Linked DNA regions of Homo sapiens: region 1 is linked to region 2. Evidence: promoter capture Hi-C in human tissues and cell types (Jung and others, 2019). All regions are on one chromosome and are shown on one strand. The core of a region is centred on a gene start or on the middle of the fragment in contact, and the rest is flanking DNA. Distances in the headings are between cores, read along the strand shown. Region 1 has its middle 6.6 kb from the start of TOP1MT. Region 2 holds the start of NRBP2 (nuclear receptor binding protein 2).

What was found. Contacts are between HindIII fragments. The study calls those that stand out against the background at their distance.
Region 1: a fragment that was not itself captured here is called in contact with the fragment with the promoter of NRBP2 in region 2 in 2 of the 25 tissues and cell types used here (dorsolateral prefrontal cortex and spleen).

What each region holds. Positions count from the first base shown.
Region 1 is chr8:143,337,571-143,345,320 of GRCh38, forward strand. It overlaps a transcript of TOP1MT not described here. Among named protein-coding and RNA genes, the nearest start is that of TOP1MT, 6.6 kb to the left of the region's middle. RefSeq lists an enhancer at 1,567-2,304. The HindIII fragment of the contact is 8,640 bases long and covers 1-6,786 here.
Region 2 is chr8:143,839,585-143,847,064 of GRCh38, forward strand. NRBP2 (nuclear receptor binding protein 2) reads right to left here and starts at 1,389. Exons shown (of 18, transcript NM_178564.4): 1 at 1,122-1,389; 2 at 523-645; 3 at 345-446; 4 at 152-241. The coding sequence starts at 1,250. RefSeq lists enhancers at 1,276-2,006, 2,007-2,736 and a silencer at 1,291-1,850. The HindIII fragment of the contact is 10,207 bases long and covers 1-7,480 here.

The DNA of each region.
Region 1 (7,750 bases), core at 1,217-3,716, 500 kb before region 2:
AGTTGGAGGATTCATACTTGCTGATTTCAAAACTTCAAAACTGGCCCAGGGAACACAGCAAGACCCCATCTGTACTAAAGATTTTTAAATTAGCCAGGCATGATGGTGTACACCTGTAGTAAGGGAGGAGACCACCTCTCATATTGTCTTCTGCCTAATTTCTGCCTCAAAGAAAAGAAAAAGTAGGAGTTAAAGAAAAGGCAGAAGTGAAATTCAATAGTCAAACAGCCCGGCGCCACACCCCAGGCCTGGTAGTTAAAGATCGGCCCGGACCTAATCGCTTCTGTTATCTACAGATTCCAGACTTCTTATGAGGAAGCATTGCGTAACTCCCTGTTTGGTTCTGTTCTGATCACCGGTGCATGCGGCCCCAGTTACGTAGCCCCCACTTGCACAATGTATCACGGCCCTTTCACATGGACCCCTTAGAGTTGTAAGCCCTTAAAAGGGACAGGAATCTGGACCTCGGGGAGCCCGGATCTTGAGAGGCGATTCTACTGATGCTCCCAGCTGATTAAAACCTCTTATTCCCTAAAACCGGTGTCCGAGAGGTTTTGTCTGCAACGTGTCCTGCTACAGTAGTCCTAGCTACTCAGGGGGCTGAGTGGGAGGATTGCTTGAACCCAGGAGTTCAAGACTGCAGTGAGCTATGATCAGGCTACTGCACTCCAGCCTGAACAACAGGCTCCATCTCTTAAAAAAAAATTTTTTTTTTGGCTGGGCTTGGTGGCTCACGCCTGTAATCTCAGCACTTTGGGAGGCCAAGGCGGGCGGATCACCTGAGGTCGGGAGTTCAGGACCAGCCTGACCAACATGGAGAAACCCCGTCTCTACTAAAAATTCAAAATTAGCTAGGCGTGGTGGCTCATGCCTGTAATCCCAGCTACTCGGGAGGCTGAAACAGGAGAATCACTTGAACCCGGGAGGTGGAGGCTGTGGTGAGCTGAGATCGCACCATTGCACTCCAGCCTGGGCAACAAAATGAGACTCCGTCTCAAAAAAAAAAAAATGTTAATTTTAAAAAGGGGGATAAATAATCTAAATAGACATTTCTCCAAAGATGAGATATAAAAGGCCAACAATCCTGTAAAAAGATGCTCAAAATCATCAGCCATGGGAGAAATGCAAATCCAACCCACAGTGAGGTCACCTCACACCTGGGTGGCTGCAGTCAACATGCTGGGGAGGGCGTGGAAAAGTGGCACCCACTGCACAAGGCCAGAGACACAGTTGGGGAGTCTGGGCCTGCAGACCAGAAGGGGTTTCTATGAACTGTCTGCCAATATTCCTGGGGTTGGCGGCCTCCTCCCCTTGTGCCCTCTTCTTCCCCAGGCCACTCAGGGGTTGCCCAAGGGAGCGGGGACAGGGCTTCACGCACTCTTCCTCACAGCAGGTAGGAGGACCCCTGTTTTGCATGAGAGAAACTAGGCTTAGAAAATTTAAAGAATTTCCCCAGAATCAAACAGGTGCTGAATGCAGGAGCTGATACCTATAAAGACGTTTCCCACCCAGAAGCCGGAGCTCCAAGGCTATGCAGGGACTGCCCAGGTGGGAGGCGGCGCCGCCCAGCAGACACAGCTGCGAGCAGTGGTGGAGTTTACCCCATCCAGAAGCCACACTGCAAAAGAAACAGTGACTTTGACCTTAACAATATACTTAATTTCAACTATTTCAACCAAAATACTGTCATTCAACATAATATGCTAATGCGATGGTATGCATCGTTCTTCTCAAAGCAGGCGTGCGTATCACACCCCCAGCACGTCTCCACTGGGAGAGCTGCGCAGCTCGTGGCTGCGTACAGGACACAGCAGGGGTGACGGCTACAACTGCAGTGTGGCCCACTTGTGGCCATGTGACCTTGGCCCGGTTACTTAACCTTTTTGTACCTCAGTTTCCTCATCTGAAAAATGGACATAGCAGTACCTACTTCATAGAGGACTGACCAAAAGCAATGCCAGACACACAGCAAACACTCACTTACTGCTGGCTGCTCCCAGTACCCTACAACCCACAGCTCAAAGCTGCCGATGCAAGAGGGCACTCTGGGGGGCACCCAGGCTCCCTGGCAACCTACAGTGGGCAGGCAAAGGCCAGCACTGTAGCATTCCCACATTCCCAGCACTGGTCTACACAGCACTCCCCGCCTCCCCCACCAGGGACAGGGAGGGGAAGTGGGCCTGTGCTGGTCTAAACTGCATTCCCCTGCTCCCAGCGCTGATCTACACAGCATTCCACCCCTGCCAGCACTGGTCTACACAGCATTCCCCCCGTCCCAGCACTGGTCTACACAGCATTCCCCCACTCCCAGCACTGGTCTACACAGCATTCCCCCCGTCCCAGCACTGGTCTACACAGCATTACCCCACTCCCAGCACTGGTCTACACAGCATTCCCCCGTCCCAGCACTGGTCTACACAGCATTCCCCCACTCCCAGCACTGGTCTACACAGCATTCCCCCGTCCCAGCACTGGTCTACACAGCATTCCCCCGTCCCAGCACTGGTCTACACAGCATTCCCCCACTCCCAGCACTGGTCTACACAGCATTCCCCCACTCCCAGCACTGGTCTACACAGCATTCCCCCACTCCCAGCACTGGTCTACACAGCATTCCCCCACTCCCAGCACTGGTCTACACAGCATTCCCCCCCTCCCAGCACTGGTCTACACAGCATTCCCACACTCCCAGCACTGGTCTACACAGCATTCCCCCCTCCCAGCACCGGTCTGCACAGCATTCCCCCCCTCCCAGCACTGGTCTACACAGCATTCCCACCACCCCGTCAGGACATGGAGGGAGAGAAGGGGTGGGGTAGGGTACACACCATTTCCACCTGCTGCCTTCGGCCTTCTCCCACCCTTTCTGGCTCTCCTCCTGTGGCTTAGCTGCCTCCTGGCCATCTTTCTTCTCTCCCTCTGGACACCCCAGCATCAACTGGCTCCCCCTCCTTCCACTTCTCTCTGCTTCTGGCTGGCTTCCGGCTGCCCTGAGCTTTCTCTTCTTGGGGCTTCTTCACCAGGCCCCCCACCTCCCAGTCACCCTTTGCCCCAGGGCAATGGCGAGGCCACGCCGCTGGCTGTGGTGCCCCGTCCAGCTCACTCCCACACTGCACTTCTCTGTCTTCCTCCAGGTCCTGAGCTTTTCATTTCTTTGGTTTTCGAGTCCCCTCTTCCCCAGCTTTGTCTGTCTCCCTCTTCTTTTCTTTTCTGGAAACCAAGGCCTCCTGTCCCACTTTTGTGCCACTACCTAATTTGTCACTTTCTTCTTTCTTGGTTTTTCCCACCCACACTTCTTTTACATCCTCGTCCTCGTTCTGTGCTTGTCTCCTGGCCCGTAACTCTCCTTTCTGCTCAGTGTGGCCCTGGCTCGTCCTCCGTGCTGGGGTGGGCACCATGCCCTCACTGTGCACCTGCTCCTGGCCACGCTTCGCACCTCTTCTGTGGGAACTGCTCTGTCTATCCCACTGCCCAGAGCGCGCTCCTCCCCAGCTCCCACGGCGGCCCCTGCACTCTTCCGCTCCCCACAGCTGAGGGTCTCAGGCTTGCCCCTAGCGTCCCCGCCACCCTCTTCTCGTGCTGCCGCCCCAGTGCATCTCCCCACACGTTTGTCCTGAAGCCCTTTCTCCCCTTTCTCTTCGGATATTCTTTTTTTTTTCTCAGTTTGTGCCTCTCTTCCACACAGCCCTTGCCCCGGCCAGTGTCTGTGAGCTCACAGTCCAGGTCCTCTTCCAGAGCCCCCTTCCGGCTGGGCACCGCCTGCAGGGCCATGCCCTTCTATCTCTTCTCTTGGGTGTCAGGACCCCGGGCACATCCACCAAGGGCCATCTTCATCTTGTCTGCAGGAACCTCCGTGTGGCCTTGGGACCTTGCCCAGAACAGAGAGCACACACCATGAGAGGGGCCACAGGGCCACAAACATACCCACCCGGAGACCCCAGAGGAGGAGGGAAGGTTCACCTTCCCCACCCCAGCAATGGCTGCCCTCCATGGGCCTAACAGATGCTTTTAACTCAGCTTTGGAAAATGGCCTCTTGATCTCAGCCCTTGTGGCCTCTGTCAGGAGCAGAAACCAAGGGCAATGAACAAAGGAGCCAGGGGTCAGCTTGGGGCTGCTCCCAACTCCGGAGCAGGTGCAGGCCGCAACAGGCCATACTGCCAGCGTCCACCCTGACCCAGACACAAAACACCAGAAAGGGAAGGTCACAGAGCACTATCCCGACACCACTGCCCCATCTAGTGCTTCCTTCTTCCTTCTTCTTCCTCTTCTTCCTCCTCCTCCTCCTTCCTCTTTCTCCTCCCCCTTCTTCTTCTTCTTATTAGCGACAGAGTCTCACTCTGTTATTATTATTATTATTGAGACAGAGTCTCGCTCTGTTATTATTATTATTAGAGACAGAGTCTCGCTGTTATTATTATTATTAGAGACAGAGTCTCGCTCTGTTATTATATTAGAGACAGAGTCTCGCTGTTATTATTATTATTAGAGACAGAGTCTCGCTCTGTTATTATTATTATTAGAGTCTCGCTCTGTTATTATTATTAGAGACACAGTCTCGCTCTGTTATTATTATTATTATTAGAGACAGAGTCTCGCTCTGTTATTATTAGAGACAGTCTCGCTGTTATTATTATTATTAGAGACAGAGTCTCGCTCTATTATTATTATTATTAGAGACAGAGTCTCGCTCTGTTATTATTATTATTAGAGACAGAGTCTCGCTGTTATTATTATTATTATTAGAGACAGAGTCTCGCTGTTATTATTATTATTAGAGACAGAGTCTCGCTCTGTTATTATTATTAGAGACAGAGCCTCGCTGTTATTATTATTATTATTAGAGACAGAGTCTCGCTCTGTTATTATTATTATTATTAGAGACAGAGTCTCGCTCTGTTATTATTATTATTATTAGAGACAGAGTCTCGCTGTTATTATTATTATTATTAGAGACAGAGTCTCGCTCTGTTATTATTATTATTATTAGAGACAGAGTCTCGCTCTGTTATTATTATTATTAGAGACAGAGTCTCGCTGTTATTATTATTATTATTAGAGACAGTCTCGCTCTATTATTATTATTATTATTAGAGACAGTCTCGCTCTATTATTATTATTATTATTAGAGACAGAGTCTCGCTGTTATTATTATTATTAGAGACAGAGTCTCGCTCTGTTATTATTATTAGAGACAGAGTCTTGCTCTATTATTATTATTATTATTATTATTAGAGACAGAGTCTCGCTCTGTCACCCAGGCTGGAGTGCAGTGGCGTGATCTCGGCTCACTGCAACCTCTGCCTCCCGGGTTCAAGCGATTCTCCTGCCTCAGCCTCCCGACCACCACACCCGGCTAATTTTGTATTTTTAGTAGAGAGGGGGTTTCATCATGTTGGACAGGCTGGTCTCAAATTCCTGACCTCAGGTGACCCACCCACCTCCGCCTCCCAAAGTGCTAGGATTATAGGCATGAGCCACCACGCCTGGCCTGCTAACTTATTTCACCATAAAATCTTAGAAGAAAATCAGACACTAAGTTCATTTGTGTTGTCATATCTGCAAGAATAAGCATTCATCAGGCATGAGTGCCTGGGAAGTTGCTTATCAGAATCATGTTCACACATTCATTTCCTATTTAAGATGCCGACTTGGCCTTTTTTCTTGGGTGGCTTTTCATGGTGATTAGTCTTCACTGGCGTGGTGATCTGTGCAAATCTAGAATTCAAATGTATACATAAACATGCAGCTCTGCGGCTCATTTAGGGTTGCCATTCTAACAACAGAGAGTCAGAACAACCTCATGGAAGCCTCCCAAGCTCTTCATGACCCTTTTCTCATTTTTCAAAAGTACACCTGGCAAAGCTGCTGGTGACCCACGTGCTGGGCATCAAGGAACCTCTGACTCTGAGCACAGCACCAGCTGGCGGTGGGAAGTCCCGCCCGAGGCCAGAAGCTGCGAACACATCTCAGGCCCCTCCCGGCCTCGGGAAGAGTGGGCAGGCAGTAAAAGGCAGCTCCCAGGTCCCCTCTGGGACCATCTCTGTCCCCACCAACACCACAGCAGTTCAGAGATCATCAATTTGGAAAAACAGTCTTTCCAAAGTAACTTTTGAAGAAGAAGTGTGAGAAAATATATTCAGAAACAAAACCCACATTGAACAGAGAGAGGAACAGACACTTCGCTTAAGTGGGAATGGCACGGGGCCCACCTCGGGCTGCACGCTGGGTCAGAGGCGCCATCCCTGGGAACCCCGAGGAGGTTATGGGGGCACCAGGCACCCCGGTCTGAACGCTCCCACTCATCGGCTGACTGGCCACCCTCACCCACACCTCACACTATGGCTGCTCTCACTCCACCATCTGACCATCACAACACACGCCCACATCCATGCAGACTGGAGACACAGTGAAACACGCGTCTTGCAAGGAAAAACCTGTGAGATTTCTGAAAATCATGTTAGAGCCCTACTGAGGCAGAGGCCTGGGCCAGCCGAGAAAGGTGAGAGGAGGCCCTGTTGTAACACAGCTGGAAAGCAGGATTCATAGATGGATTTCATGTGGAATCTAGGCCCTCAAGGATGGGGCCCTCAAAGATGACACCAAGGTCTGTGCTTGAGAAGACAGAAGGAGCCGCTTCACCGAAACGAGAGGACTAGGGAGGGAAGGGCAGCAGACACCCACGGTCCTCTCAGGATGTGCTGACTGCAGAGGCCTAGAGTCCCACAGGGAAGCCGTGGGAGGCCCCCTCTGCCCCAGCCCAGCTCAGCCCTCCTGCTTGAGGAAGAAGGAGTGGCGGGACACCAGAGGGACAGGCTAGGAAGCACTCAGTAGCAGTGGCAGGAGCTCAGGAGGCTTTGGGCTGGCCCTGAGACACCACCACCCACTGGCCAGCAGCAGCTGGTCCTCCAGGTCTCCGTGACTCCCCCAGCCCCATGCCCACCCAGGATACAAAGGCAAGCCTCCCCACTCCCCAGCCACTCCCTTACTCAGTGAGGACCCAGGGCTGCTCACTGTGCCACCCGCCCGCCGCGCAGCACCATTCCCCAGCTACAGGGACAGCTGATGGTCACACAGACCCCACAGCGATCTCTGTCACTCCCAGACGCCCCCTCCCCAGTAACCCCTGTTGTGGGGGTGTAGACGGAGAGGCGCAGACACTGTCCTGTCAACAAGCCAGGCTCCATGTTGTCCGTAAGTCCAGGGCCCAGCACCTAAGGGTGATTAACTGGCAAGGACACCAAACAGCGGAGGAGGAGGGACCTCAGCTGAGCGAGATGAGCGACAGTGAACAAGGCCAGGCAGGAGACAGAATGGATGGGCGTCAAGGGAGGAGCCACCCAGCACCTGGAGAGCAGCTGTGGTCACAGGCACGAATTCATCACAGCCACAGTCATCAGCACGGGCTGCAGTCTGGGGTAGAAAAATCAGAAGGAAGGAAACGTTAAAGTTTTAAGCAATAAGAGACCCAGGGGCCGTGTTAAAAGGTAACTCATTCTCTACCTCATCCCAACTCAATGACACAATCCTGGCTCCACCTGGGCCAGCACAGGGGCTTGTAAAAGAGTATGCATGGGAGACTCCCCATAGACAGGTCCCAGTCCCCGGACACAGACACGTACCACACTGCAGGCACCAGCCAGTCCTTCCCGAGGAGCTTACCCTCACTGGGCAGAGCCACGCACTGAGGGGCAGAGCCCACAAGCCCACTGGCAGCCGAGGTCACCCCCATGCCTGACCTGGCAGAGCCCT
Region 2 (7,480 bases), core at 139-2,638:
GCGCAGGAGAGGCGGCTGGGCCTGCGGAGCCCGCCCCGCATCCTCGCCCAGCCCCTGTCCGAGGCCGCCGGGCACCCCCTCACCATCCCAGTCCCCGAGGCTGCCCCAACCCCGTCCTGTCCCCGTGGCTGCCCCAGCCCGCTCCCCATACCCGGGCGTTCATGGCCTTGTGGTTCTTCTTGGTCTTTTTGAGGAATTGCTTGAGGCTGCCTGATGACACGTACTCTGTGATGAAGATGACCTGCACGGTGCGAGCTCAGGATTTCCACCAGCTGCGGGTTCGTCCCCATGCCCGCCCCACCTAGCTGTGGTCTCTGCCTGCCCGGGGCCTTGCCCGTGCTCACCCTCGCGCAGGCCTCAGAGGTATCCAGCCAGTACTTGTGCAACTTCACGATGTTCGGGTGGTCCACCAGCACCAGCTGCTCGAACACGGTCTGGATCTTCTCCTGGGGAGGGAGGGTGGTCGCTGGGTGGTCAGCAGGTGGTCACCCAAGCAGGATGAGGAGGGGGCAGCGGTCTCACCTCGTGCGCCGCGAAGGCCTTCCTGTCTCCGAAGTGGAGCTCGTTCCACACCACCTCTACCCCCTCCTCCGTGTCCATGGCTAGGAAGGTGCTCTGAAGCCCTGGCATGTTCCCTTGGTTTACCTGGGGGTGAATAAAGGGTTATGTGTGCCCTGGTGTGTGTCAGGGTTGTGGGTGAGGATTTGGTCCCTGTCCACACCTTTCCAGTGGGCCCAAGCGTGGGCTGCAGGCCCTGAGCCACTCTGCGGGAAGGTGGGGCTTGGAGGGTAGCTGCCCCCAGGAGCCAAGGGCTCCTATCCAAGGGCTGGGCTAAGGGGATTTGGAGCAGGTTTCAGGGGGTCGAGGGGGATCCCCAGGAAGCTAGCGGCTGAGTCCAGAGGCATGGGGAGGTGGTCCTGGGAGGAGACTGGCCCTCAGGGAGTCCCAGGGCGAGCGCCAGGCCAAAGGGGTCCAGGGGTGGCTGATTCGCGGGCCGCGAGGGGCCGCGGAGAGGTTTCCAGCCGCCGCGCTCTCCCAGCGCCCCCACGCCCCGCGCAGCCTCCAGGCCCCTCCCGCTCTGGGAGGGCGGTGTCACCCCGTGCCCCAACCCCCGCGCCCACCTGCTCCCGTCGCTTTTGCCAGCGACCACACGGGCTTTCCTCCAGGATGTCGCTCTCGTCCTCGCTCTCGTCCTCCCGCTCCCGCTCCCGTTCCCGGGCCCGCCTCGGCGCCGGCTCCGGGGCCGCCATGGTTCGGCCAGCCCAGGCCACCGCCCTCTGCGCGATCCGCCGCCGGCGCAGCCTCTCCCGGCCCGCCCTGGCCTCGCGCCCAGCAGCCCAGCCTAGAGCCGCCGCGGCAGCCTAGAGCCCCAGCCCCGGCTCTGGGAATTGGGAGGCGCGGGCGCGCGGCGGACGGGCGGGGCCCGGGGGCGGAGCCGGCGCGCACCTCCCGAGCCGCCTGTGCCTGCCGGAGCCAGAGCAGAGCTTCCCCGAGAGCTGCCGAGCCCGGGCCGCGCCCAGGCCCCGCCCCCCCGGAGGCCCCGCCCCGCGAAGCCCCGCCCCAGTCCCTGTTTCCTCCTCGTCTCCCAGGCCTGCTCCGCGAAGCCCCTCCCCAGGCCCTGTCCCCTCCTCGTCCTCCAAGCCTCCTTCGCGAAGCCCCGCCCCAGGACCCGCCCCACCCCCGCGAATCCCCGCCCCGTTTTAGTCCCCGCCCCCGCCCGTTCCCAGGGTCCTCCGCGAAGCCCCACCCCAGGCCCCGCCTCACCTCCTCGAAGCCCCGCCCCTATGAGGCCCCGCCCCGCGCAGAGGAACCGCCCCCAAATCCCCGCCCCCTCGGAGGCCCCGCCCTGCGGACACCTGGAGCCCGGAGCGCCCACTTCTCTCGCGGTTGCTCCCCTAGGATCTGGGGGAAGACCCGGGGCATCTGGGGGCCCCCAAGCCCACGGCACCCTCCAGCTGCAGAAGACCCCGCGGGCTCGAAAGCGGGACCCGCTCTCCTGGCCACGCACTCATTCCCCGGCCGACCCCCAAGGGACAGGTCGAAGGGGCACCGAGGGCGGGGGAAAGGCCCACCAGCAGGCTGACCCAGGCTGACTTTGATCGGTGACCACGAATCTCTCCCTGGCCCGCCCACCAGTGCCTCCTCCCGCCCACAAGCCCATCTTCTCACTTTCCAGGATGGCGATTTTCTCTTTTCTCCTCAAACGCGCATTTCCTTTCCGCGGCTGGCTCCCATGGGACAGTGGAACCATGAGGGGGGAGCCCACCCGGCTCACACGACCTCTCCCTCCGGAGGCCGCTCTAAGCACACCCTCCAGCCACGCCGACCACCGGGGCTGTCCCCGATTCTCACCTAAAACCCCCTTCAGCCCACAGCCCCCACGGCCTTCCTGTGGTCTCCTCCCTCCTTCACGGCGGGTCCTCATCCTTTACCTTCTCTCTCTGGAGCCCAAATTGGAACTCCGCTCCTCCCCTCCGCGCAGCTCCATGCACTGGCCCTTTGGGACGCCTCTTTCTTTCTTTGGCAGAGGTGCATCTGGCCCTGCTGCGTCCCCTGTGGTCTCTCTTTTCTGACCAGCCTTGGTCACCAGGCACCTTGTGTGTGGTTTCCACCAATGCCAGGTGATCCTGCTGAGGCCCTCTGCAGTAAAGGTTTGGGGTGTTCAAATCCTCCACCCTGAAACTGGCCCTGACCAGCTCCTGGGAGACACCCTCTAAGCCCTTGGAATGTTCTGCCTGATTTGAATGTCTGTGTTTACCTCGGCCACACCAGATTCTATGCTAAGCTTGTCCAACCCGCAGCCCAGAGGGTGCATTCGGCCAAGGACAGCTTTGAATATGGCCCAACACAAATTCATAAACTTTCTTATTGAGATTTTTTTTAAAGCTCATCAGCTGTTGTTAGTGTTAAGTGTATTTTATTTAAGGGTATTGCCCAGGACAATTCTTCCAATGTGTGCCAGGAAAGCCCACAGATTGGACACCCCTGGTCTGTGCTAACAATATGGTCTACGGGGGGACCTTGGGCCATGTGGCATCAGCCTGACCTCTGCAGGGGCTGGAGGCCAAAGTCAGCCACCTGGGAGGTCAGCCATGCCTGTGTGACCAACCCAATAAAAACCCTGGACACTGAGGTACGGAGGGCTTCCCTGGCTGCTGACATGCTGTGCTCATTGTCACACCTCAGTGCTGGGAGGTTGAGCACTGTCCCCATGCCTGCAGTGGGTGGGGACACCTGCAGACCCGTGCTGGTCTGTCCTGGGTTCTGTTCTGTGAGTCCTTGCCACTGCTGATTTTAACGCATCCATTGCTGTAATAAATAGTACCCTTTCCGAGTTCTGTGAGTCCTTCTAGTGAACCATTGAACTTGAGGGTGGTTTTGGGGAGCCCCCCCAGTGGTCCCTTCTCACTTGGTATGAGGGCCTAAACATGAAGGCCCAGTAATTGGTCCCATTACCCTACCTCACGTCAGCTGCCTTCTTCAGCTGAGCCCACCCCAAGTACACGGCCCTGTGCCATCGGACATGACAGGCACTTCCCCTCAGGGTCTCTGCCCTGGTTATACCTTTGCCCGGAACGCCCTTCCCAAACATCCTCTGAGGTCACTTCCTGAGAGGCCTGTCCTGACCACGAATCCTGACATCACAGTCCCCACACCCTTTCGCCTGCTTGACTTGACTTTTCCCGGAGTATTCACCCCACCTGACTTGCATCTGGGTTTTTCTCATCTCTCTTCTTCACTGTCTGTGTCCCTGTTGCGATTCGAGCTCCCGCAGGGCAGGAGTGTCTGCTCGTTGTCCCTGCTCTTTCTCTGGTGCGAGGACGGTACCCGGCACACAGCAGGCCCTCAGCAAACACTTGTTGAATGGATCTGTGGGTGGGCAGGGGTGCGTTTTGGCGGGTGTGGTCCAGAGAAGCCCCTAAGGAGGTAAGCCTTGAGCAGAAGAATCTCAATGAATTTCCTCCCCTTTCTCCGCCCCCATAACCAGACACACATGTTCTGTGGTAGGTCACATAGTGTCCCCCAAAAGTCTACATCCTGATCCCCAGTACCTAGGAGCACAGCCTTATTTGAAAAAAAAAAAATGGTCTTTGCAGATGTAAATAAGTTTAGGATCTTGAGATGCTGGGGTGGGCCCTAAATCCAATGTTTGATGTCCTTATCAGAGAAAGAAAAGGGATACTTGGGGTGCAGAGAAATAAGGTAGACAGTCACATGAACATGGAGGCCAGTGTTGGAGGGATGTACCCACAGGTCAAGGCGTGCCTGGGACTCGAGGACACGAGCTGTTCCAGTATAATAAAATATATAAAATAAGAATAGTTGTACTGATATAGATCTTAGATATGATTATATATGAATATCATTAATCATTAGTTTGTAGCAATTACTCTTTATTCCAATATTATAATAATCCTCACTCTATAATCATAGCCTAGGAAAAACCAGGCCATACAGAGATAGGAGCTAAGGGGACATAGTGAGGAGTAACCAGAAGACAAGAGTGCGAGCCCTCTGTTATGCCCAGACAGGGCCACCAGAGGGCTCCTTGGTCTAGCGGTAACGCCAGCGTCTGGGAAGATGCCTGTTGCCAAGTGGACCTTGGTCTAGCGGTAGGCGCAGTGTCAAGGAAAAACACCTGCTACTTAGCAGACCGGGAAAGGGAGTCTCCCTTGCCCCGGTGGAGTTTAAAGAAGACTCTACTCCTCCACCTCTTGTGGAGGGCCTGACATTAGTCAGGCTCGCCTGCAGTTATCCGGAGGCCTAACCGTCTCCCTGTGATGCTGTGCTTCAGCGGTCACACTCCTAGTCCGCCTTCATGTTCCATCCTGTACACCTGGCTCTGCCTTCTAGATAGCAGTAGCAAATTAGTGAAAGTACTAAAAGTCTCTGATATGCAGAAATAATGGCGTAGGCTGTCTTTCTCTCTGTCTCCTCTCTCTCTCTGCCTCGGCTGCCAGGCAGGGAAGGGCCCCCTGTCCAGTGGACACATGACCCACGTGGCCTTACCTATCATTGGAGATGGCTCACTCTCCTTATCCTGCCCCTTTGTCTTGTATCCAATAAATATCAGTGCAGCCTGGCATTCGGGGCCACTACCGGTCTCCGCGACTTGGTGGTAGTGGTCCCCCGGGCCCAGCTGCCTTTTCTTTTATCTCTGTCTTGTGTCTTTATTTCTACACTCTCTCGTCTCTGCACACGGGGAGAGACCCACCGTCCCTGTGGGGCTGGACCCTACTTGGGACTGCCAGGGCCATGAGTGGTGAGGAGAGAGTCCTGGGATGGATTCTCCCTCGGAGCCTCCGGAAGCATCAGCCCTACCGATACCTTGATTTTGCACTTCCAGCCTCCAGCACAGTGAGCGAATCTGTTTGTGCTGTTTTACGCTACTCCTCCATCTCTGGTGCTGCTCCAGCATGACCCCCGTGGTAAGAACAGTAACGTGACAACAGCTATGTGTTCGCGTGCAGGGATGCGTCCCAGCATTTATTCCCATGCACAGAGTGGGTCGTCCTACTGCCTGCCCACGCACAGAAGTGGTGGCCGCTGCGGCACACCCTCCCTGGCCTCACTCAGGCTGTGCCCCAGGGCGGGGGCGTACCCTCCCTTCTGCTCGGCCTCTGAGCTTCTCCACCCCTTGATGCTGCCAGGCCATTTCAATTTATTGGAAGTTCTCTAGGGCTGCTCTTAGCCATTGAGCCATCCACCTGCCCTCTGAGCCTAATCTGTGAATTGGCTTTTTTTTTATTTTTTATTTTTTTCAGAGACAGGGTCTCACTCTGTTAACCTGGAGTGCAGTGGTGTAATCACAGCTCACGGCAGCCTCAAATTCCTGGGCTCAAGGGATCCTCCCACCTCAGCCTCCTGAATAACTGGGACTATAGGCACATGCCACTGCACCCAGCTATTTTTTAAAACTTTTTGTAGAGCCAGTCTTGCTATATTGCCCAAGCTCATCTTGAACTGCTGGGCTCCAGGGATCCTCCTGCGTCAGCCTCCTGAGTAGCTGGGAGTGCAGGCGTGAGCCGCTGTGCCTGGCCCCCTGTGCGATGCCTTGTGATGCCAACTGCAGGTTCGCTGCTCACTGCCTCCTCCTCTTCCACCTTGCAGATCTACTGGGGCTCCATGGTTGTCACCTCAGAGTCTTCCCAAGCCTCTCCCTCCTGTGAGGCATGCAGGTGAGCTGCTCTCTGAATTCCTGCAGATTTCTTTCCCATTGGCAGGTGGACGATCCCCGGGCTTGCAGGGCTCAGGACTGCTGTCCTGGATGCCAGGAATCCTAGGGTGGGAGAAAGCCAGGGGGTTCCAGCTCTGGGGGGTCAGAGGAGCACCAGAGGACCCCTCCCACTGTCTGTCCTGGTGACCCTGCCTCCTGGTCTTCCGCCTCATGTGCAATCCCCTCCCAGGAGTGTGGACTGGACTGAGTGACTTGCTTCCAGGGCTAGAACACAGCAGAGGCACTGGGCTAGTGCCTCCCAGATTGGGCGGTGGAGACAGTGGCTTGCTGGCTTCCCAGCTCACTCCGAGCAAGCCTGTGAAGGGTACACACAGCCAGAAACAGCCGTTTCCAGACAGCAGCCATGAAGGCCTGTGGCGGCCAGCAACCAGCTTGGAAGCTGGTATGTGCGCACATGTGTGTATGTGAAGTACTGATTAGGAATAATTATTTCCAAAATGATTTCAGGAGGATAGCAATATATTTAGTCATAACTCAATCCTAAGGAATAGAGGCATCTATTCAGCATACAGATAAGGCAAAGTCCAAGTTGAAGATAATTGACACCTATGGTGAGCTCTCCTCGTGTCAACAGCCCTCCCTGGTGGGATCTTGGCGTATGCACCAAATTGCTTTAAAGGACTATTTGCGTGACAGTGAGACCGCACAACAACTCACATCACTCACTCCTTTTTTGTTGAAGGGGTCTTTACCCACTCTTGCACATAGGTTAGGATAATTGTAGAGCACTGAGATAAAATGCAAGGACAGTAGTTTTCATGTAGTTTTTGAAACTAATTCGAGGATTGAAGGGAAAGCATGTAAACAGCTATCTATATTTTGTTGAAGATTTACAGGAGCATTGTGACCTGAAAAGGAAGAGGAAGTTCCCAACCTCCTTGGAGCCTCATTGGCACCCAGCTGTCATCCATCACCCCTTGATCGCAAGCCCTCCTCTTTCCCCTGCCCTGAACTTGTAAAGGGCCTGAACCTCATACTGGCATGAGATGGTTCCTGAGGATGCTCATTCGCATCTGCTGGGCTTGCTGCTCTCCAAAATGAAGTTGCCTTCTCGGCTTCAACTCCTTGTCTGGACTGATTGGCTGTCATGCAGCAGCAGCACAAGTTTGGACTTGTTAACCTTTGGACATTTTTAGTTACTTATGAAACTTGCTGGCGGGGCGCGGTGGCTCATGCCTGTAATCCCAGCACTTTGGGAGGCTGAGGCGGGCAGATCACCTGAAGTCAGGAGTTCGAGACCAG